7 separate regions of the Homo sapiens genome follow, and all the other regions are linked to region 1. Evidence: promoter capture Hi-C in human tissues and cell types (Jung and others, 2019). All regions are on one chromosome and are shown on one strand. Each heading gives the region's core, a stretch centred on a gene start or on the middle of the fragment in contact. The rest is flanking DNA. Distances are from core to core; before and after follow the strand shown.

The links. The method cuts DNA at HindIII sites, captures the fragments that hold promoters and counts their contacts. A contact is called where the count stands out against the background at its distance.
Region 2: a fragment that was not itself captured here is called in contact with the fragment with the promoter of P2RX4 in region 1 in 4 of the 25 tissues and cell types used here (H1 embryonic stem cells, dorsolateral prefrontal cortex, spleen and 1 more).
Region 3: a fragment that was not itself captured here is called in contact with the fragment with the promoter of P2RX4 in region 1 in 2 of the 25 tissues and cell types used here (dorsolateral prefrontal cortex and mesenchymal stem cells).
Region 4: a fragment that was not itself captured here is called in contact with the fragment with the promoter of P2RX4 in region 1 in 2 of the 25 tissues and cell types used here (aorta and hippocampus).
Region 5: a contact is called between a fragment that was not itself captured here and the fragment with the promoter of P2RX4 in region 1, in 2 of the 25 tissues and cell types used here (heart left ventricle and lymphoblastoid cells).
Region 6: the fragment with the promoter of SPPL3 here is called in contact with the fragment with the promoter of P2RX4 in region 1 in 2 of the 25 tissues and cell types used here (hippocampus and liver).
Region 7: a contact is called between a fragment that was not itself captured here and the fragment with the promoter of P2RX4 in region 1, in 5 of the 25 tissues and cell types used here (IMR-90 fibroblasts, lymphoblastoid cells, mesenchymal stem cells and 2 more).

What each region holds. Positions count from the first base shown.
Region 1 is chr12:121,208,388-121,211,467 of GRCh38, reverse strand. It overlaps P2RX4 (purinergic receptor P2X 4), which reads right to left and starts at 1,339. Exons shown (of 12, transcript NM_002560.3): 1 at 1,170-1,339. The coding sequence starts at 1,303. It overlaps LOC105370032 (a long non-coding RNA gene), which reads left to right and starts at 1,396. Exons shown (of 4, transcript XR_001749352.3): 1 at 1,396-1,619. RefSeq lists an enhancer at 514-563 and a silencer at 894-1,633. The HindIII fragment of the contact is 10,060 bases long and covers 1-3,080 here.
Region 2 is chr12:121,474,934-121,477,996 of GRCh38, reverse strand. All of the region lies in intron 12 of KDM2B (lysine demethylase 2B), which reads left to right. Among named protein-coding and RNA genes, the nearest start is that of MIR7107, 32 kb to the right of the region's middle. RefSeq lists an enhancer at 974-1,801. The HindIII fragment of the contact is 8,981 bases long and covers 1-3,063 here.
Region 3 is chr12:120,834,996-120,838,477 of GRCh38, reverse strand. All of the region lies in intron 1 of SPPL3 (signal peptide peptidase like 3), which reads left to right. Among named protein-coding and RNA genes, the nearest start is that of SPPL3, 68 kb to the left of the region's middle. The HindIII fragment of the contact is 7,575 bases long and covers 1-3,482 here.
Region 4 is chr12:120,786,722-120,789,934 of GRCh38, reverse strand. All of the region lies in intron 3 of SPPL3 (signal peptide peptidase like 3), which reads left to right. Among named protein-coding and RNA genes, the nearest start is that of ACADS, 63 kb to the right of the region's middle. The HindIII fragment of the contact is 5,083 bases long and covers 1-3,213 here.
Region 5 is chr12:120,933,362-120,936,803 of GRCh38, reverse strand. No RefSeq gene overlaps it. Among named protein-coding and RNA genes, the nearest start is that of XLOC_009911, 30 kb to the right of the region's middle. The HindIII fragment of the contact is 5,842 bases long and covers 1-3,442 here.
Region 6 is chr12:120,902,235-120,905,698 of GRCh38, reverse strand. It overlaps SPPL3 (signal peptide peptidase like 3), which reads left to right and starts at 1,341. Exons shown (of 11, transcript NM_139015.5): 1 at 1,341-1,854. The coding sequence starts at 1,832. It overlaps XLOC_009911 (a long non-coding RNA gene), which reads right to left and starts at 1,004. Exons shown (of 2, transcript NR_131215.1): 1 at 927-1,004. RefSeq lists silencers at 1,142-1,501, 1,582-1,801, 1,942-1,991. The HindIII fragment of the contact is 15,749 bases long and covers 1-3,464 here.
Region 7 is chr12:120,852,967-120,856,242 of GRCh38, reverse strand. All of the region lies in intron 1 of SPPL3 (signal peptide peptidase like 3), which reads left to right. Among named protein-coding and RNA genes, the nearest start is that of SPPL3, 50 kb to the left of the region's middle. The HindIII fragment of the contact is 8,131 bases long and covers 1-3,276 here.

The DNA of each region.
Region 1 (3,080 bases), core at 90-2,589:
CCTGTAATCCCAGCATTTTGGGAGGCTGAGGTGGGCGGATCACCTGAGGTCAGTTCAGGACCAGCCTGAAACCCCGTCTCTACTAAAAAATACAAAAATTGGCCGGGCGTGGTGGCGGGCACTTGTAATCCCAGCCACTCAGGAGACTGAGACAGGAGAATTGCTTGAACCCGGGAGGCAGAGGTTGCAGTGAGCCGAGATCGTGCCATTGCACTCCAGCCCGGGCGACAAGAGAGAAATTCCGTCTCAAAAAAATAAAAAAATTAAAAAAGTAACAGGTGCCTTCAAGTACAATGGCACATTCAGCGAGGCCTGAGGGCGGTAGGGCATCTCTAGCCTAAGGGGGCAGCATGGGGAATGACTGACTAGGCTAGGGCAGGTACCACAAAAAGCCCCACAAGCCCAGAAAACAAAGGAAGCAAACTTTAAACACTCGCTACAGTCTGACCTCGCTACTACCACATAGTGACACCGCATAGTGATCAAAAGAAATGACCAAAAGCCACCCACCCAGAAGGAACCAAGCGGAAATTCCAAGCTTTGGTTTTGTCAGCAAATCAGCAGGATGGGAAGTGGAGAGCGAAGATTGAGACGTTCAGGGCGAAGCCCCTACAGCCAAGGGGCACTATGGGGGGTCAGGCAGGAGAGGGTAACAGCCTAGCCAGGCTTTGCCTTTATTTATTTTGTAAACAGACGGGTCTCGGACTGTCTCCCAGGCTCGAGTTAAGTGGTGTGATCATAGCTCACTGCAGCCTCAGCCTCTTGGGCTCAAGCGATCCTCCCACCTCAGCCTCCTGAGTAGCTGGGACCCCAGGCGCGCGCCACCAGGCCCGGATGATTTTTAATTTTTTGCAGAGACGGGGTCCCACGATGTTGCCCAAATTGGTTTCGAACTCCTGGGCTCAGGCGATGGTCCCGCCTCGGGCTCCCAAAGTGCTCGGATTACAGGCTTGCGCCACCGCGCCTGGCCCAGGCTGTGGTTTTAAAACAGCAGCAAGCAGCCTCCCGCCCCCGGGGCCCCGGCGCGGCGGCTGGGGCCCAGGGAAGGTGTCACCGCCTCGGCTCGCCGCTCCCGGACTCGCCCAGGTGACCGAGGCCAGGATGAGCCGCCGCACGGCGCGGACGCGAGGGCAGCACCCGCCGCGCCCCCCGCGCGGCCCCACGCTCACCCGATGACGTAGGCCAGGATGAGCAGTTGCACGGCGCGGTTCATGAGCCCCACTTTGCGGCTGCGGATGAGCACGATGCGCGGCGTGTCGTACTCGAACAGGAAGGCCGCCAGCGCGGCGCAGCAGCCCGCCATGGCCGCGCCGCCCGCTCCCAGTCCCCTAGTCGGTCTGGGTCCCAGTCCCCGCTCGGAGCCCCGCCCAGTCCGCCTGGCCTGCTGGCGGCGCCGTCATCGCGGAGGAGGGCCCGGAAGGAGGCAGCACGGGCGGTCGGGGCCCGGGGCCCGGGGGAGGGCGCCACCTCCCCGTCGGGAACGATGACCCTCTAGGGGGCATGGAACTCGCGGGGGGGGAGTGGCCTCGCCCTTGAGGACGAAAGGCTCCTTCAAAAGGCGGGCGAGGGGCCGGGGGCGGTGGCTCACACCTGTCATCCCAGCACTTGCGGAGGCCGAGGTGAGAGGAATCTTGAGTTAGAGACCAGCCTGGACAACATAGCGAGACCTCGTCTCTATCAAAAATACAAAAAAAAAAAAAAAAAAAAAAAAAAAGCGGGCGTAGTGGCGCTCGCCTGTAGTCCCAGGGAGGCTGAGGTGAGAGGATCGCTTGAGCCCAGGAGGTAGAGGCTGCCGTGTGAGCTGTGATCGCGCCACTGCACTCCAGTCTGGGAGATGAAGCGAGACCCTGCCTCAATAAACCAGAAACCAAAAAACAACAAAAAAGGCGAGTTGGGGAGTAATGACCTTCTCAGGAGGGCCAGAGAGAACAAGAGACCCTTTCGGGGAAGATGGGGTCCGCGAAGAGAGAGTGACCTCCCATTTGGGACAGAGTTCAAGTGAGGGGTAACGAGCGACCTCCCTTAGGGGTACTGATAGGTGCCAGGGATTTCCGTAGAGGACCCCGGGGCTGTGCGGAGTAGCCATCGCTCACGAGTGCGGGCTCCTAAACTTGGGCAGCTGTGGTTGGGGGAGCTGGGGCCGCGCTGTCCTTAGCCTCTTGGGGAACAGCCTAAATATCAGGTGTCCTGTGAGCCCTGGGTGAGAGCCACACGCCCTGTAAAATACCCCTCCTGGATTTGAAGCCTGGTCGCATTCTCACTCCAAATACTTCCTTAGTTGCAGCCCAGGGGAGATAATTCTGTGGTCATCCTTTCCACTGAGAAAATGCTATCACAACTTTAGGAGAGAAAATAGTGAAAGGGGGGGAAACAGCCACCGTTCTACCCCATGAATACAATTTTCCGCATGTGTATTTGTTCATTCCCTTCAGATACGTTTTTTCTTTTTCTTTTTCTTTTTTTTTTTGAGACGGAGTTTCACTCTTGTCCAGTCTGGAGTGCAGTGGCGCGATCTCGGCTCACTGTAACCTCCGCCTCCCAGGTTCAAGCAATTCTCCTGCCTCAGCCTCTTGAGTAGCTGGGATTACAAGTGCCCGCCACCACGCCCAGCTAATTTTTGTATTTTTATTAGAGACAGGTTTTCACCATGTTGGCCAGGCTGATCTCCAGCTCCTGACCTCCCATGATCCACCCGCCTCGGGCTCCCAAAGTGTTGGGATTACAGGCGTGAGCCACTGCGCCTGGCCCAGATGTGTTTTCACAGGTGAATGTTATATTTAGTTTCCCAGAAAATATTCATAAGCACATCCTTTATGCCAAGTACTGTCCAGTGAACAGGACAAGCAAAATATCCTGCCTTCATGCAGCATAAATTCCAACAGGTAATTGGTATAAAGTTTTGGTTTGTAATCATAGTCAATGGCTGTGCTTTTCATTTTCTGATTCGCACTACGTGGTTTCTGTGTTACTGCAGACTCATCATAATGACAATTTTTAATCCATGGACCATTTCTTCCGGAAAATATACCACGATGTCTCTAACCGCTCTCATCTGCTTGCTTCTTAGTTTGTGGATCCTA
Region 2 (3,063 bases), core at 124-2,623, 270 kb before region 1:
CTGAGACGGGAGGATCCCTTGAGCTCAGGAGTTCAAGACCAGCCTGGGCAACATAATGAGATCCCCGTCTCCATAAAAATTTTTTTAATGATAAAAAAAAGTTTTAAAATAAGAAAAAAGCCTGGGCACGATGGCTCACACCTGTAATCCTAGCACTTTGGGAGGCCAAGGCAGGTGGATCACCCGAGGTCAAGAGTTTGAGACCAGCCTGGCCAACATGGTGAAACTTTGTCTCTACTAACAATATAAAAATTAGCTGGGTGTGGTGGCAGACACCTATAATCCCAGCTACTCTGGAGGCTGAGGCACAAGAATCGCTTGAACCCGGGAGGCAGAAGTTGCAGTGAACCGAGATCATGCTATCGCACTCCAGCCTGAGTGACAAGAGCAAAACTCCATCTCCAAAAAAAAAAAAAAGGAAAGACAAAAAGAAAAGAAGAAAAAAATTAGCTGGGCATGGTGGCATGCACCTGTAGTCCTAGCTCCTCAGGAGGCTAAGGAGGGAGGATCCCTTGAGCTCAGGAGTTGGAGGGTGTAGTGGGCTGTGATTGTGCCACTGCACTCCAGCGTAGGTGACAGAGTAGACTTTGTCTCTTAAAAAAATAAATACATATATACATACATATATAAAAATAACTGGGGCCAGGCCAGGTATGGTAGCTCATACCTGTAATGAAAGGTATTTTTACAATACCTTTTTAGAAGGTACCATTTTTAGAAGCCAAGGTGAGACCATGCCTCCACAAAAAATAAAAAAAATTAGCCTGGTGTGGTGGCTTTGTGCCTGTAGTCCCAGCTAGTTGGATGAGATGGGGGGATTGCTTGAGGCCTGGAGTTAGAATCTGCAGTCAGCTATCATTGGCACCACTGCACTCCAGCCTGGGTGACAGAGTGAGACTCCGTCTCTACAAGATTCAAATTAAAAAAATTGTTTCATCAGGAGATGAAAAATGATCTTTGAAGAATGTCATTCCGTGTGAATTAGCTGGCGATGTTTGGCAGAGCTTTTCCTTGTCAACTGGGGCTACCCCTAAAAACAGTTCCTCCTGAGCCAGCAGTGTGAGGGCTTCACTTCTTGCCCTTTAAATGCTGATTTTCAAAGTAAGGAGTTGGTTAATGGCTATTTCAAATGGTGACAATAGATTTTGTCAGGCTTTTTCTATTTTGAGTGTCTTGATGGATCTATGAAAATCCATGAAATGAAGAACAAGAATGGTAACTGAAGAGAGAGGCCCATGGCAGCAGCCAGGGAAAGGGAGGAGGGAGGGAAGGAAGGAGGGAGAGAAAAGCCATATGTATTGGAATTAAAGTGTCATCGGAGCCCATCAGACCCCCACAGTGACTGTTAGCAGCTCATTTAAGAGGTGATTGAACTATCTCTTTGTTTCAGTTAGTTTTAACACATCCCGGGGTTTAGGGCCTATAGTTTCTAACCGTGTTACCTTTCAGGAATAGGACCTAAAGTCACTCTTTTTAATTTTATTTTTAAGAGACAGGGTTTTTTTTTTTTAAAAACAAAAAACAAAAAACTACCTGTTGGATGCCGCTTGTCTTGTTCGGTCACCCAGGGTGGAGTGCAGTGGCGTGATCATAGCTCACTGCAGCCTGGGACTCCTGAGCTCAAACAGTACTCCCACTTCAGCCTCCCAAATAGCTGGGACTACAGGCATACTACCATGCTCGGCTAATTTTTTTTTTTTTGAGGCGAAGTCTCGCCCTCGTCCTTCAGGCTGGAGTGTAATGGCACAATCTTGGCTCACTGCAACCTCCGCCTCCCGGGTTTGAGTGACTCTCCTGCCTCAGCCTCCCGAGTAGCTGGGATTACAGGTGCCTGCCACCATACCCAGCTAATTTTTGTATTTTTAGTAGAGACAGGGTTTCACCATGTTGGCCAGGCTGGTCTTGAACTCCTGACCTCAGGTGATCTGCCCGCCTTGGCCTCCCAAAGTGCTGGGATTACAAGCGTGAGCCACCGTGCCGGGCATTTTTTTTTTTTTTGGACACAGAGTCTCACTCTATTGCTCAGGCTGGTCTCAAACTCCTGGACTCAAGTAATCCTCCTACCTTGCCCTCCCAAAGTGTTGGGATAACAGGTGTGAGCCACTGCCCCTGGCCTAAAATCTCTCTTGAGTGATGATAGAGCCATAGGGAGATGCCCCAACTCTTGGAGAGAAAATAACATCTATTCAAAGACGTGGGGGTTGTGGGGCAGGGGGGTTAGTCTTCTCCTCATCTCCAAGATTTTCTTTCTAAAAAAAATTTTTTTTTATAGATGGGGTCTTGCCATGTTGCCCAGGCTGGTCTCAAACTCTTGGGCTCAAGCAATCCTCCTGCCTTAGCCTCTCAAAGTCCTAGGATTACAGTCATGAGCCACTGTGCCTGTTTTTTTTGTTTTGTTTTTTGAGACAGAGTCCCTGTCTGTCACCCAGGGTGACTGAGTGCAGTCACAATCTTGGCTCACTGCAGCCGCAACCTGTTGGGCTCAAATGATCCTCACACCTCAGCCTCTTGAGTAGCTGGGACTTAAAAGTGCATGCCACCTTGCCTGGCTAAATTTTCTTCTATTTTTTGTAAAGACAGGGTCTCAGTGTGTTGCCCAGGCTGGTCTCAAGCTCTCTGGGCTCAAGTGATCCTCCTGCTTCAGCCTCCCAAAGTGTTGGCATTACGGGTATGAGCTTCCACACCTGGCCTCCAAGTTTTGGTATAGTTTTTTTGTGTGTCCATTTTTGACCAGATTAGCTAACCTAGGGAAGACATGTCTGATGAAATACACACACACACACACACACACACACACACACACACACACACACAGAGTCATGTGTAGTTTAATGACAGGGATACATTCTGAAGAATGCATCATTAGGCAATTTCGTCATAGAATGTCCTTATACAAACCTAGATGATATAGCCCTCTACACACCTGGGCTGTATGGTAAAGCCTGTTGCTCCTGGGCTGCAAACTTGTACAGCATGCTACTGTATGAATACTGTAGGCAACTGTAACACTATGGTAGGTATTTTTGGTTTTCTGTTTGTTTGAGACAGAGTCTCGCTCTGTCT
Region 3 (3,482 bases), core at 407-2,906, 370 kb after region 1:
GGAAGTCCCCGAATCAAATCTTCTTGGCCCCTGATTGATCTGCCTTGGCTGTGTGCTTGTTTTTGGTCGCAGTTTGGGATAAGCTGGAGCCGGGAGTGAGTACAGTCCAAATCAGGGTTCTCCTAGGAGAGGAAGGAAGAAAGTATGCTGGAGAAGTATCCAACAAGGGTCTACTACAGAGTCACACCTCTCCTGTAGAGCTGATAAGGAAAAAATAAATATGCATTCACTGCACTCGAGCCTGTATCTGATAACCTACCAAATTCAGATAGCCCATCTCTCAGGAGACCATTTCTTTTTCTAGCCTTTCGTGTCTATGTCCTTTTATTCTTCCTTGTTTTGGTAAAGCATTTTATAGCTTTAAGACAGTTCCTTTGTTTTAAGTAGTAAGTATGGGCTGTGTTTATAATCACTGTGTCTGAGTTTTATTTATTTTTTATTTTTTGAGACGAAGTCTTGCTCAGTCGCCTAGGCTGGAGTGCAGTGGTGTGATCTTGGCTCACTGCAACCTCCGCCTCCTGGGTTCAAGTGACTCTCCTGCCTCAGCCTCCCAGTAGCTGGGATTACAGTCGCCCACCAACACACCTGGATAGTAGAGACTATACCATTTTGATATTGTCAGAATTTAGGCACTAGTCATGTGTGTGTGTGTGTGTATGTAACAGCTGCAGGAAAGGTTGGAAATGCATTATTTTAAAAATCAGGATTATTTTACCAAAAAGGGAGAGAATAAATGTTGGAAGGAAATTTGCAGTCTCTGCCATATTGTAGTTTTTTATTTTTCCTTTTTAGGTGGGTATTTTTAATTGCCTAGTAAATTGTGGTAGTTGAAGTTATCTGTTTGACTTACAGGAATCGCATTCCCTTCTGATAATAAATGGAAGGTTGTTGTATGATATAAAGAGTAAGTACAAATACAGTGCTAAAAAGCATTATAGAAAATTCAAAAATGTTTAATGCCTTCAAATGCAGCTAAATACCAATTTGGATTCAGGAAGAACTAAGATTTTAATATCACGTATTTCAGCTAATTGAAGACTATTGATTTAACATTATTTTTGTGCCACCAATAAAAAAATGCTGCCAGTTATAAAATGCGCTCCAATTTCAGAGTTGTTAAAATATGAGGAAAGTACCTCTTTGACAATATTAACCTTTTTCATATCTGCCTTTTTTCTCTTCACATTTCTCTCTAGCCAGTTGAAGGGACAATTATTGCTTGTGATTGAGAACTGGTCAAATGCAGATAAACTAGGCAAAAATAAAACCATATTAATAATATAGCTAGTACTTATTAACATCAGATATACAGCCAGTTAGTCTTACAAATCTTAGCTAACAAGTTACATTAAAATGTTACTGCTCTGTATCAGTTATCTATTATCTATTGCTGTAAAACAGACTACCGCAAAACCTAGTAGCTTAATGTCACCATTTTGAAATTTTTATTGACATAATTATAGATTCACATGCAGTTACAAAAAAAAAATGCAGAGAGCTCATGTGCTCTTTGCCTGGTTTCTCCCAATGGGCAGCGTTTTGTAAAACTCTTAACAACACAATCAGGATATTGGCATTGATACAACCCATTTATCTTATTCAGATACCCCTGGTTACTTGCACTCGTATATGCACGTATGCACACACACATGTGCATGTTAAGGCGTGTACAGTTTTACCACCTGCCTGTGTTTCTGTATGCACCACCACAGTCAGGATAGTGAATGGAACTAACACTGAAAGTATCCCTTGGGTTGCCCTTTTGTAAGCATATCCCACACCTTCCCGGTGCTAACCCTCCATTCTCACTCCGGTCCCTAACTCCTGGCAGCCACTAATCTGTTTGCCATTTTAAAGTTTTGTCCTTCCAGAAATGCTATATTTGCTCATGATTCTTCAGATCTGCATTTGGGCAGGGGCTCAGTTGGGATGGTTTTGTCTTTGTCCCGTGTGGTGTCTGCCGGACTCTACCAGCACTGAAGGATCAGGATGGTCTCATTCACATGCATAGAGCCTTGGTACTGGCTTTTTGTTGAGGTGTCTAAGTGCTCCTCCCCACAACCTTTCTCATGTAGTTGTCTTCTGCTAGGCTTCTTTCTCTGTGTGGCCTCTTTCCAACAGGAGAGCCTGGACTTCCTTGCATGCCAGCTTCAGGTGCCAAGAAAGCAAAAGTGGAGCCTGCTAGATCTCTTTTCAATCTAGGCCTAAAACTGGCACAGCCTGCTTTCTGTAGCCGTCTTTTGGTTGGAGAAAGTTGCAAGGATAGCCCAGATTCAAGGGGAGGGGAAATAGACTCCCCTTCTTGGTGGGAAGAGTAGCAGATATATGCAGAGATGAGAGGCATTCTTGGTGGCCAGCTTTACAGACAATGTGGTGCACACTCCAAAGTTACAGAAATGATGGCACATGGGTCTGCTTGGATTTGTTGTAAATGCTACCTTACTTCAATTTTGAAATGTGAACTCATTTGAATTTCATAAAAAGTACAAAGGAGAATGTGATATGGTTACATAGTTTTCTGTTGCTAATGCCCATTTCAGATAGAACAGTTCTGTTGCAAGGGAAGTTGCCAGAATTTAAGTTACCAACCAAATCTAAGGATTCTCAAGGGGCCTGTGGTATTTGCAGAACAAGTGGTTGCTTGAAGTGGCTGTTAAGATGTTAGGAATGGTTCACCTCTCTCTCATTTTCCCAGGCTAGCTGTTTCTTGTGATCCTAAAATAGCAGGGGCTTGTATATGTAGTGCCAGAATTCTGTAATACCGACTTGGAGAGACCACACAGATTTCTGTCTTTACATTAAGCTTTTTACATGAAGGCATAAGGATATTGTTTTTCAAGATACTATCAACATAGAAGAGATCTTTTAAGAGGGAGAAGAGTTTTTCAATCAAGGAAATGAAACCAGTAAAACATTTTCTCAAGATTTTTCTGACTATAAAATGTTAAGCTTCCTTCGTTTTGTTGTAAGAGTGACAGCACAGTGGGTCAGAGGATAGATCTTAGACTTCATCGTCAGAATTCTTGATCATCTATAACTGTATGTATAACATCTATGACTAACGAACAAGCTTGCCTAGATTTCTTGAAGGAGAGATAACGAAAGAACTACTGTTTAGCAAGGGCTACATGCTTAGAGAGTATTTCATAAATCATGAGGATGGTTAAGGGTAGGTGTGGTTTCAAAAATAAAATGAATTTTTCACTCTGAGTTTAGAATTATATGTTATTTGGCTAAGAGCTTCCTTCTGCCTTCCTTTCTGAGTGATAACTGATTTTACAGACATTTAGTATGCACTGTCGATCTGTGGAGCATATTGTTAGACATCATTAAAAGGAAGTTGGAACAGGGTCCCTGTTTTCCAGGAGACTGTGGTCTAACAGGACAAATAAGATGTATGCAGAGAGGTAATATAATACCAAGGTGATTAACATAGAAGAGTTTCAAAATGAGGCAAGAATGTTACAACAAACTAAGCTGCC
Region 4 (3,213 bases), core at 294-2,793, 420 kb after region 1:
AAGTTTACCTCAAAAACAAACAAAAACAAGAAATGGTTGTGCCAGTCCGTACAGTGGAAAGAAGTTACCTGGTAATACAGCTCTTTTTTTTTTTTTTTTTTTTTTTTTTTGAGACGGAGTCTTGCTCTGTCATTCAGGCTGGAGTGCAATGACGTGATCTCAGCTCACTGCAACCTCTGTCACCTGGGTTCAGGCAATTCTCCAGCCTCAGCCCCTGGGGTAGCTGGGATTACAGGCGCTCGCCACCATGCCTGGCTAATTTTTGTATTTTTAGTAGAGATGGGGTTTCACAGTGTTGGCCAGGCTGGTCTCAAACTCCTGATCTCAAGTGATCCATCCACTTCGGCCTTCCAAAGTGCTGGGATTATAGGCATGAGCCACTGCACCCAGCCAACATAAGCTTTTTTATTTTTTGTTCATGAAGCACAGTCTAAAGAGTGGTAGAATACTTCTTTTTTAAATGCTTTTTTTCTTTTTTTTTTTGAGACAGAGTCTCACTGTCACCCAGGCTGGAGTGCAGAGGTGCAGTCTCTGCTGACTGCATCCTCCGCCTCCCGGGTTCAAGTGATTCTCCTGCCTCTGCCTCCCGAGTAGCTGGGATTACAGGCACCCACCACCACACCTGGCTAATTTTTGTATTTTTAGTAGAGATGGGGTTTCACCATGTTGCCCTGGCTGGTCTTGAACTCCTGACCTCAAGTGATCCTCCAGTGTTGGCCTCCCAAAGTGCTGGGATTATAGGCATGAGCCACTGCACCCAACCTAAATGGTCTTTCTTAACTCTGCCAGCTATGTTGTACTAAATTATCCTTGACAACATTTCTTCAGTGCCTGCTCTGAGCAGTGGATGCCAATAGGATAAGGACAGATTAGCATAGACTGCAAAATTCACTTCCTCAAAGAAGAACATAATGAAGAAGCCATTACAAAGACGGCCGACCAGTACTTGATTATGGAATATAAAATTATTACAGATTGAAAGGATGACATGGAAAACAGGATGAATTTATCAAGAATCAAAGAAATAATAGCCAGAAAGATGAACAGAGAAACAGAGAGGTGTAGGTGCTAAGGAGATGGAAGTCCTGGATGATTAACAATGTGGAACAACTGGGGAGAAGGTTTTGAGAAAAAGAAAGTATAAATTTAGTGTTAAGATTTTGTCAGGAGTGTTTCAGACTGATTGAAGGAGACAGTAATCAGAAGTTTTTAAAAGATTGTAGCTGCCCACTCCCAAAATAATAAGAAACAAGGAATTTGTAAAGAGATAGGAGAGCAGGAGAAGTTGTAGGTGTAGCCAGCATCATTGGTGGGGTACGTGGGTGAAGGGTTACTCTTACGATTACATGCTTTGAATATGTCAGAAATGATTTGACTGTCCTTGATTATAATAGGAGCTAGGAGAAGGAGAAGCATTAAGTGAGACTCAACAGAGGGTTAGATGGGCCATGTGACTCATGCCCCAAAAAATCAGAACTTAAAAATGGAGAAATCAGTTTGTAATTGAAAGTTTCTCGCTGCAGGGTGCCCTAGGGTATTTGACCAAAAGACTGGGTAATTATTACTTCAGATTATAATAATGTTCCACCTATCTGGGCAACTCGAAACACATGGAAGTAAGAGGAAGAGTTGATCAGGCCTGCCAGGAACTATGGCACTCAACTCATTAGAAAGCAGAAAAGTAAAAGTGAAGACAGTAATGAAAAAGCACTACATGCCCACCACCAGAATAGCTAAAATTAAAAACCTTGACCATTCCCAGTGCTGATGAGGATGCACAGCAACAGCAAAGAGCCCTCTTGCGTTACTGGAGAGCATGCGTTAGCACAGTCACTTTGGAAGGCAGTTTGACATTTTACCTACTAAAGGTGACAGTATAAATACCCTTGGACCCAGCAGTGTCACTCCTAGTTATATATCCAGCAAATACAGTCACATGTGCATCAAGTCATGTGCAAGAGTGCCTAGAGCAGCAGCATTTGTAATAACCAAAAAATTGGAAACAACCCAAATGTCAACCGTAGAATGGATAAATTTTACTGTATTCATACAGTGAAAACAAGTGAACTGCTGTAGCTACATAAAACAGCATGGATAATTCTCACAAATCATATTGAGTCAAAGAAGCCAGACACAAAAAAATAACTACATAACTCAATGCATATAAAATTTAGGAAACAGGCAAACTAGTATTTAAGGATGCGTGCTTGGGTGGAAAACGTGTCATAAAAGTCAGGATAGCGGTTCCCTTCAGGAGAATGAGAGAGAGAGAGAAAGTAGTGATTGAGAGGGACACAAAGGAAGATTTCTGGGGTTGGTTTGTTTCTTGACTTGAGTGGTATTAAATATGTAATAATTCATTTTTGTGCTTTTCTGGGTGTGATGCTTCACCATAAAAAAGGTTAGAAAGTGACAGGAGTGAGGGTGGAGGGCAAGAGTTCCCTCCAGGTCCTCTGATTTCCCCTGACCTTGTTCTAACTTCTCTGCCTGCCCCCAAGAAGCCAATATAGAAATTTATTTTCCCATGGCACATCAGTCCTTCATTTAAGTAGTATTAAGTGGAATTTTAAAAAGCCATGTACACCCCTGCCCAATTATCTGACATCTTAAAGACTTTTACTAAACTTCAGTTATAATTTATTTGAGTTATAAAGATTGATGGAGATGTATAGTTGGGATCCTCATCTTTAGTAGAGGTATACATCTTAATCTTCTTGCTTAGATTGTAAACTTCATGAGATCTGGAAATGACTTTCTTTTAATCCCTCCTGTTGCTTACTATATAATAAGTGTTCAGCAAATAGTCAAAAGCATCGTTCTTACAGGGAGGTGTAAAATCAGTAATTTTCTTAATAGTTATTGGTTTTATTGCTCAGTGTCTATTCCATACCAGACGTACATTTAGCCTGTAGCCATGTTCATTGAATGTTAAAAATGATGTTGCTGTACAAAATTTTTAATTCCATTACCAAGCCTATTTCCTATGTTGATTTTTGCCTTAAAGATAATGCAACTGCACTTGCATATGTCCTCCTAATTATGGCTAGTCTGTTTTGCTTTGCTCAGTTTTGCTTTGTTTTTAAGTTACTGGAGTTTGGCTAAAATTTCTAATTAATTACCTCTTTCTTTCCCATTCAAGACCTTTATCTCCAGAACTTTAGGAAATGGAGTACTGAAGTCATGGACATTGTTTTAGGTAGCATATTGTCAGGA
Region 5 (3,442 bases), core at 828-3,327, 280 kb after region 1:
TGAGATTGCACCATTGCACTCCAGCCTGGGCAACAAGCGCGAAACTCTGTCACAAAAAATAAATAAATAATTCACCAGCCTGGTGGTGCGTGCCTGTGATCCCAGCTACTCAGGAGGCTGAGACGCAGAGGTTGAGGCTGCAGTGAGCCGAGATCGCTCCACTGCACTCCAGCCTGGGCGACAGAGTGAGATGCTGTCTCAAAAAAAAAAAAAAAAGAGAGAGAGAGAGAGAGAGAAAGAAGGCCTCCCTGAACCCTGATTTTCCCTGGAGACCTGAAGGATGAAGAGGAGTTAAAGGCAGAAGGGAATAAGGAGCCGGAGAAGCATTCCAAGCAGAAGGCCGGCACTTGCAGAGGGAGGGAGGCAGGAAGGAGGATTGCTCATTTGAGGAACTGAGAGCCAGCCAGTGAAGAAGAAGTGGGGCTGGAGCTGGGGTGGAGATTGTGCTGGGTCTTCAACTTTATCCTCAGGGCACTGGGGAGCCACTGGTGGTTTAGAACACAGGAATGACATGACCTGACTTTCAAAGGACTCCTCTGGCTGCTGTGAGGAGGATGGACCCTGTGTGGGTTAAGGGCAGAGGCTGAGAGTCCAGTGAGGAGGTTAACGGTCTCATCCAGGCAAGCAGTAACCATGTTCACACAAAAACTTATATATGAAAGCTCATAGCAGCTTTATAGTAGTTCAAAAGTGGAAACAACCCAAATGTCCATCCACCGAGGGAACAGAATGTGGCCTATCTGTACAATAGAATCATTCTGACCATAACAAGCAATGCAGCTGGGCACAGTGGCTCATGCCTGTAATCCCAGCACTTTGGGAGGCCAATGTGGGTGGATCACTTGAGGCCAGGAGTTCAAGATCAGCCTGGCCAACCTGGTAAAATCTCATCTCTACTAAAAATACAAACATTAGCCGGGTGTGGTGGCACAGGCCTGTAATCCCAGCTACTCGGGAGGCTGAAGCATGAGAATTGCTTAAGCCTAGGAGGCGGAGGTTGCAGTGAGCTGAGATCGTGCCACTGCACTCCAGCCTGGGCAACAGAGCAAGAGTCTGTCTCAAAAAAAAAAAAAAAAAAAAAAAAAAAAAAGAGGAATGCAGTACTGACACACTGCAACATGGATGAACCTTGAAAACATTCTGCAGAGTGAAAGAAGCCAGACACAGAAGACTGTAAATCGTATGATTCCATTTATATGCAATGTCCAGAATAGGCATCTCCATAGAGATAGAAATTAGATTAGATGTTGACAAGGGCTTGAGGTTGGGGGTGGTGAGAGAATGGGGAATGACGGTGAATGGGTGTGGGGTTTCTTTGGGGAAGATAAAAATGGTTTGGAAGTAGATTATGAAAGTGGTTGGGCAAGTTGATAGCTACACTAAAAACCACTGAATTGCACACTTTAAAAGGGTGAATTTTATAGTTTGTGAACTATATCTCAATCAAAAAAGGAGGAGGAGAAGGAAGAAGAAAAGAAGAAGAGGCTGGGCACGGTGGCTCATGCCTGTAATCCTGGCACTTTGGGAGGCTGAGGCAGGCAGATCACTTGAGACCAAGAGTTCAAGACCAGCCTGGCCAACATAGTGAAACCCCATCTCTACTAAAAATATAAAAATGAGCCAGCTGTAGTGGTGCACACTTGTAATCCCAGCTACTTGGGAGGCTGAGGCAGAAGAATCACTTGAACCTGAGAAGCGGAGGTTGCAGTGAGCCGAGATCACACCACCGCACTCCAGCCTGAACAGAGCGAGACTTTGTCTCATAAATAAGTAAACAAATGAATAAATGTGAGTAACATCCTATATTAGTTTCCTACTGCTGCTGTAGAAATTACCACAAATATTGACTTTACACAAGCTTATTCTCATAGTTGCGGAGGTCATGAATCTGACATCGGTTTTATAGGGCTAGTTCCCTGTGAGGGCTCTGAGGGAAGAATGTGTCCTTGCCTTTTTCATCTTCTAGAGGACCACCTGCATTCCTTGGCTCACATTCCCTTCATCGATCACTACAACCTCTTGTTTCCATCGTCAAATCTGCTACCGCTCACTCTGGTGTGCCCACCTCTTCCAAGGACCTGTGTGATTATATTGGGCTAGATAATCCAGGATAATCTCCTCATCTCAAAAATATTAATTTGATGCATCTACAAAGTCTCCTTTCCTATAATCATAGGTTCTAGAGTTCTAGAGATTAGGACATGGACATCTTTTTTTTTTTTTTGAGACAGAGTTTTGCTCTTGTTGCGCAGGCTGGAGTGCAATGGCGCGATCTTGGCTCAACGCAACCTCCACCTCACGGGTTCAAGAAATTCTCCTGCCTCAGCTTCCTGAGTAGCTGGGATTACAGGCATGTGCCACCACGGCCAGCTGATTTTGTATTTTTAGTAGAGAGGGGGTTTCTCCATGTTGGTCAGGCTGGTCTTGAACTCCCAACCTCAGGTGATCCCGCCACCTTGGCTTCCCAAAGTGCTGGGATTACAGGTGTGAGCCTGCTCCCGGCAGGACCTGGACATCTTTTAGGGGTTATTATTCAGCCTACCACACACTTACCAGATTTAAAATTCTATGATGTACACTTACCTACAGTATCTCATTTAGATACTTATGAGGTGTTATCATTCCTATTTAATGAATGAGAACGCAGGTCTAGAAAGCTTCATTGCTTAGCCACAGTCATATAGTCAAAGAACTAGAAACTCAAACCGGAGTATATGGCCCTAGAGACCATGTAACAGCACTACACACCACTTCTCCTCCACCAGGCTGCCTGTAAATCACGGGCCTTTGGCCTCTCATTTTCTTGTACAACTCAAAAAAAAAAAAAAAGAAGAGGAAGAAGAAGAGGAAGAGGAGGAGGAGGAGGAGGAGTAGGCGGTGGCAGCGCCATGGCTCAAGCCTGTAATCCCAGCACTTTGGGAGGCCAAGGCAGGAGGATTGCTTGACCCCAGGGGTTTGAGACCAGCCTGGGCAACATGACGAGACTTTGTCTCTACTAAAAACAAAAACAAAAAAAACTTGGCTGGATGCAGTGGCACATGCCTGTAGTTCAACTAGTTGGGAGGCTGAGGCAAGAGGATTGCTTGAGCTCAGAAATTCAAGGCTGCAGTGAGCTATGATTGTACCACATCACTGCACTCCAGCCTGGGTGACAGAGCAAGACCCTGTCTCTCTGACAGAGGAGAGAGAGAGAAAGAGAGAGAGAGAAGGAATGAATTGACCTAAGAAGGAAAATGGCTGAATTCGGGATATATTTTGGATGTGGGTTACTTAGGGGACACAGTGGGGCAGGAATTGGTCCTATGTGAGTCCCTGCATCCCTCAAGTGTGCCACTGGAAGAAAAGCAGAAGGAGCAGCAAGTATGGAGCCCATGTCAGGGTGTCACCAGCTCCCCAGTGTGAGCCACTCACAGAACGCAAAGGCCATGCAGTGCTGGGATTC
Region 6 (3,464 bases), core at 92-2,591, 310 kb after region 1:
TTTTCTTTTTCTTTTTCTTTTTTTTTTTTTGAGACAGAGTCTCGCTGTTGCCCAGGCTGGAGTGCAGTGGCGCAATCTCGGCTCACTGCAAGCTCTGCCTCCGGGGTTCACGCCATTCTCCTGCCTCAACCTCCTGAGTAGCTGGGATTACAGGCGTCCACCACCACGCCCGGCTAATTTTTTGTATTTTTAGTAGAGACAGGGTTTCACCGTGTTAACCAGGATGGTCCCGATCTCCTGACCTCATGATCCACCCACCTCGGCCTCCCAAAGTGCTGGGACTACAGGCGTGAGCCACCGCGCCCGGCCAAAAGAATGACTTTTCTTTGATAAGCCTCTCACCCTTTCAGACGGCCTCATCCACTCCTGGGGAAGCATTCCGCAGTACCTGGGGCCTCAATTAATCTCTCTCTTCTCTCTCCATCTAAGCTCCAGATTCACTTTGTTGGTCTCTGGTCTAGCTCTACCGTGTTTATTTCTGTGCCGGTTTCCAGACCTCCAAATGGACGGTTTCCTGAGCCTTCTGCCCTTGCTGTTCCCTCTGCCAGGAACTCTTTTCCTGTGGATCTTTGCAAGGCCAGCTCTCTGTCATCATTCAATATCAGCTCAAATGTCACCTCCTAAGCGAGGCCTTCCTTGACCACCCTATCTAAAGTAACCCACACCTCTGCTCACTCTCTGTCCCCTCACCTTGTGTTACAAAATGTGTTTTTGTAAAACTTAGCAGCATCTGAAATTATCTTATTTGTGGGCTTGGACTATGTCTCTTCCTTTAGAATGTAAGCTCTAGGAAGGCAGAGTGAGTTGACACATGGTTGGCACCCAACAAATATCTGTTGATTGATTCTGTGAAGGCAAGCGTGGGGTATTCGACTTGGTGCCGGGCCTGGGCGCAATAAAGGTTGGCTGCCTGGAATATTTGCTACCTGAATGAATGAACCAAGGAACATACGAACGAAGGAATGCAGCCCTCTGCCTGTTGACTGACAGGTTGACTGACAGTTGGGGGGCCCGTGGCCAGCAGACTGTTGACTGACGGTTGACAGCTGAGTGGCAGCCAACAGACGCGCATCGGGGTTCCCGATTGGCTGGTGCAGCAGCCCCTCGGAGAGGGGCGGAAGAGGGTACCCGAGGCGACATCTCCGCGTGGGGAGGGGGGCGGCACCAGGCAGCGGGAGGCGGCCCAACTGCTCTGGCTGTGCGAGCAGCAGCCGCCTAGAACCCAGGAGCCGACGTCTCTGCGCATGGGCCCGGCTCGAGGGGCGGGGCGCGCATCACGTGAGCGTGTTTTGGGCACGTGACCCGCGCGGGGCCAAGGCTCGCCCCCGCCCCCGCCCCTCCTCCCCTCGGCGGGTGTGATCGAGTGGCCTCGCCTCATCGCCTAGCGCCCCCCTCAGTCGCCGCCGCCTCCGCCCGCCGGCCATGTCCCCCGGCCGCCGCCGCCGCCGCCCGAGCGCGGCGCTCCCGCGGCCCCGCGCGCAGTGAGCGCGGGCCCGTCTTGCCGTTCGCCCGCCCCAGGGCCCCCTTGTTCTCCGCGCCGCCGCCGCCGCCATGTTGGGTTTGGAGCTGCAGCGGAGCCGCCGCCGCCGCCGCGGGTGAGGGAGGCCGAGAGCGGAGCCCGCCCCGCCCCGGGGCCCAGGGAGCGGGGCCGCTTCGGAGCCCGGCCTCTCCCCGCCAGCCGCCTTCCCGGCCCGCCGTGCAGCCAGCGAGCCAGCGAGCGAGCAAGCAAGCAAGCACCGGACCCCGGCCGCGCCTTCAGCTACGGCCCGAGCGAGCCCGCCGCCGCCGGGCCCGGCCACAGCCTGCAGCGGAGCCCACGAGAGGCAGCGCCATGGCGGAGCAGACCTACTCGTGGTGAGTGCGGGGCTCCGGGAGGCCGGGAGGCGGCAAGGGTGGGGGTCGGGGCGCCGGCGCGGCCCGCCGAGGGGAAGAGGAGGAAGAACAGGTGCGTGTCGTGGGGGGGGGGCGCGGGTTGGGGTGCACGCCCCCCTCTTCCCCACCGGAGGGGGCGGCTGGCGCGCACGGAGGGCGGTGAGTGGCCGGGGACCTGGCGTCCGAGAAGGGGAATGGAGGAGGAGGCAGCGGCGGATGTCATCTGGCTATGGGCGGAGCAGGTGATGGAGAAGGGGAGCATGACCCCGGGGGTGGGAATCCCACGGATGGGAAGTTGAATCCGACAGGCACCCCGGAACTGACTCGTGGGGGTGTTTCCTGGGCAGGAGGACTCGAAGGGGTGGAGAGAGGCAGGCCAGGGCAAAGGTGGGCCGCTGGGCTGAGAGGAAGCTCTAGTGAGAACAGGTGATAGAGGCAGAACTTCTAAGTTGGGAGAGTGGAGCGGCCGCCGCTTGGCTCTGGGACAGGGAGCGCAGGGAGAGTTGGTGAGGTGGGCAGAGGCCCGGGAGTGAGGGGAGGAAAACTGCGGGGGTAGAGTCCACGAACCTTGGAGGGGAGTCACTGGTGAAGAGGTTGGAAGAGGAGCCTGAAGAACCTGTTTCCTTTTCCTTCTGGAAAAGGAATTCGTTGGTGACAGTGGGGCATGGGCAGAGTCTTTGTAAGGGTTGGTACTATTATTTTCAGAGGAATGGCGCCCAGGGCCAAGTGTGGAGGTGGAGGACCTGCAAGTTAAGTTCATTTCTGTGGGGCTTTTAAAGTTAGTAAGTAGCTCGTTAAGGGCCGAGAAGCGAGAAGCTACTGTGTAGTTTATGGGGTGACAACCTACATATCCGGAGAAGGGAGTGCCAGGGTTTGGGGGAAGGAACATGAGGGGTCTCCCTTTAGCATGTAGAGGTGGGATATTTGCAGGACGGGTTGAAGGAATGATGGCAGTATCCATGAAGAGTGGAAATCGGGTAGTGAGAAGGAAGTCATAGCTGGAGAGTGAGGAAGCAAGAAATGGCATGATCGTAGGAGTGGGGGACCTGATTGCAATTTAGAGAAATGGTTTGAAGATGGTTTACTCTTGAAGCAAATGTGGTTTGGGACAGAACTGTAGACATTCCCTTCTTAGAAAAGAGCATAATAGAATGGGACGAGCATGCCGTGTGGAGTTGGAAGACCTATTTCGGAGGTCCGGTTTGCCACCAACTTGCTTTGTTGATACGACATGGTAGTGAGTTCTTCGGTCCTTTTTCCTTACCTATAAAATAGAGGGAATTACCTTTTCCACAGCCTGTAAGGATTAAGTGAGTACATTTAGAAAGCACTTGGCAAACTGTGAAGTGCCACAGATCTTACTACATTAATTATAATTATCCTAGAGAAACATCTAAGAAATGGGTAATATCAGAAAATAAGGAATGGTTTTAGGTAGAAGACTTTGAGTGGATTATTTATAGTGTTAGAGGTTATAAGTCAGTAACTCATTGAGTCTTCACATAAGAGAAAGGGAGTTGGGGATTGAAGATGATAATTCTTAAGAGAACTTCATTGATGTATGTGCAATCTCAAGAAGAAGGTAACTGAGA
Region 7 (3,276 bases), core at 740-3,239, 360 kb after region 1:
AGAATTGCATCATAAGCCTAAGCCACAAGGGGACTGGAATCTGCATTTAGGTTTGTGCTGTCCAGCAAGGTAGCCACTGGCCACATGGGGCTATTTAAATTTAAGTTCATTAAAATTAAGTACAACTACAGATTAAGTTCCTTAGTTGCACTCACTGCATTTCAAGTGCTCAGTAGTCCCATGTGGCTAGTGGCTACCTGATTGGACAGTGCTGTAATATTACTAGAATGTTTTCATGATCACAGAGTTCTGTTGAACAGTGCTGGCTTACATTAATCACGATTCACTCCCTGGGCCTTTTCAGAATTGCATTTAGTCTTGAGATTTTCTCAGGTGCATTCCAGAAAGCATGTTCATGGTGAACAGCCACAGAATCTGACAATGAGACCACCCCATGTGGCTCTGGGGCTTCAAGTACACCCCCATTCATTTGCATGAGTGAAATAATTTCTCTGTGTAGGAGAAACAAAAAGGTTGTTTTACTGCCAGAAAAAGTACTGAACACATTTCTGAAGTACTGTTTTTCTTTTCTTTTCTTTTTTTTTTTTGAGATGGAGTCTTGCTCAGCTGCCCAGGCTGGAGTGCAGTGGTGCAGTGGCACGATCTCAGCTCACTGTAACCACCATCTCCCGGGTTCAAGCGATTCTCCCGTCTCAGCCTCCCAAGTAGCTGGGATTACAGGCAACTGCCGTCATGCCTGGCCAGTTTTTGTATTTTAGTAGATACGGGGTTTCACCATGTTGGCCAGGCTGGTCTTGAACTCGTGACCTCATGTGACCTGCCTGCCTCGGCCTCCCAAAGTGCTAGGATTACAGGCCTGAGCCACAGCGCCTGGCCTGTTTTTCTTGAGACCAGTCATTTTATTTGAAAATTAAGCTTTGAGGTCATAGTGCTAAATAGCCAGGGCCTATGATTTACTTGACAAAAATTGTTTTTTATACATTTGTCAGTTTCTAATTGGGTAGTTGGAAAATGCCAGGAAACTATTATTTCTGTTCATTTTTTGTGCTATATGGAATCTGTTATACTGAGGGGATGTACTTTATAAGTTATTAGTACAAGGATTAATCACTGATAGTCCCCTTCTCTCGTCATTCTTGCACTCTGTGGGGTCTAGTGATCCATCCATACAAGGAGAAGAAACGGTGGCTGGAGGGATAATGAGTTCCCTCTCCTCTTTCCTACACACTAGAAGTAGGGTCAGGAAAGCCCTGCATGCTTCTTCCTTCCCTGTCCCTTCCCTGCCCCTTGTGGAGGGTCATCATGAAACAGTTACATGCAGGTGCTATAAAAATCCTGGCGTGTTCTTTGGTCCAAATAGTGATCTTGAATGTCATAAATATAAGAATATTTTCATTGCACTGTTTTTCCTCAGTTGAGCAGGTTTTGATTATAACAAAACAAATGCCCCGCTTTGGAAACACTTGGTAATGACTGTTATTTAAAAGGAGTAGGAATAATAGGAAGTTAGCTTCTTCTTGTTGACCTTTGGAAAGGTTTGTAACTTCATGATGCTTCCTTAGACTTTGGGGCATTCAGGCTGACTGAATTTTAGACCCAATTGACAGTCATTTTTGCTTGAGTCTTTTTGAAAATCTTTTTAGTATTATTAAAATGGTTTCTTGCCTTAATAAAATATACAGAATATATAATTTAACATGTATTTGGCTTTGATAGCACCTCAGGCTCTTGTTCATCAATTATTGTTTTAGTGATTTATAGGTGTAGCTGTTGCAAAAGGAAGGTGGTCACACAGCACATAGCTGCCATGACTTAAAAAGAAAAAAGACCTGTGCTGTTGGCTTGCTTACTTCTCCATTGTATGTTGGCAAGACTAGATTTACTTAGCATCAGACTACTAGAGTATGTATATAGATACATATAATTCAACACTTATCACCAAAACAGTTTCTTGAGCATTCTAAAATTGTTTTAGGGGTGGACCATGTTTACCTCCCACTGAATGTGGAGAATTTTTTAGGTGCTTCATGGTAAACCCTTGGCTTTTCTGATTTCCTTGGGTCAGTTTCCTCTGCCCACCTCACAGGAGGCTGCCACATGTGTTCTTACATTTACTCCTTGAAGAGCCGTCAGTAAAGGGTACATTGATAACTTGCACAGTCATGAGTAATTCAGTTTGAGTAGCTAGGTTTATCCTGTTTGGGGAACTGACTGTCACTGTGGGGTTTTCTTCTCCCTCTGGCCTTTTTTTTCCCCGTGTGTGTGTGTGTGTGTGTGTGTGTGTGTGTGTGTGTGTGTATGTGTGCGTGTGTGTGGTGGTGGTGGTGTTTGTTTTCATGTGGTTTTGGGTTTGGGTTTTGTTGTTGTTTTTTGCTATTCCAAATACAAATTCATCTCACTTGCTTTCATAATATATTCAGTAGTTTTTCTGAATTGCTATGAAAATGTGAATTTTATCTAAAACTGATTTTTAAGGTATGGTCTTTGGACTAGTAGTAGCATCTGTATTGCCTGGGAACTTTTTAGAAATTTATGAATGCTTGGCTCTGCCCCAGATCTGCTGAACCAGAAACTCTGGGGTAGGTACAGCGATCTGTGTTTTAACAAGTCCTCCAGGTGATTTGGATACACCATCAGCTTTGAGAATCACTGGTCTAGAAGATCCATGAATTTAATCATTTTGAACAAATGCTGAAACTTCCTTTCCATGTGCTTTGGTGTGCATCATATCTTCTTCTTAGTCTAAAATTTATATCAAAAGAATTAGGAATACTATGGTTTGTTACAGCTTCTTGTTTTGCTACTATTGTGTACATTTTTAGAAGTTACTAAGGAAAAAATTTTACGTTTGGTGTCAGATGTTTGTCCATGTGACATTTGAATGAGTAAGTGCAATTCCTTTGGGCAGATAAAAATGTCAGTGTACTTTATTTGTCTAACAGGAATTCTCTGCTTGTAGATGTAATATAATATAGTTCTGTAGACTTAGAAATCAAATATTTACCATATACATTTTCCTTCATTTGCTTGCCTTAGGAAAAAAAGTGGATGAGCAGATAAGATGATGGTAAAGAATATATCTTTAGGCCGGGCGTAGTGGCTCATGCCTGTAATCCCAGCACTTTGGGAGGCTGAGGCGGGCGGATCACCTGAGGTCAGGAGTTCAAGACCAGCCTGGCCAACACAGTCAAACCCTGTCTCCACTAAAAATACAAAAAAATTAGCCAGGCATGGTGGCGGGTGCCTGTAATCCCAGCTACTCGGGAGGCTGAGGCAGGAGAATCGCTTGAACCCAAGAGGTGGAGGTTGCAGTAA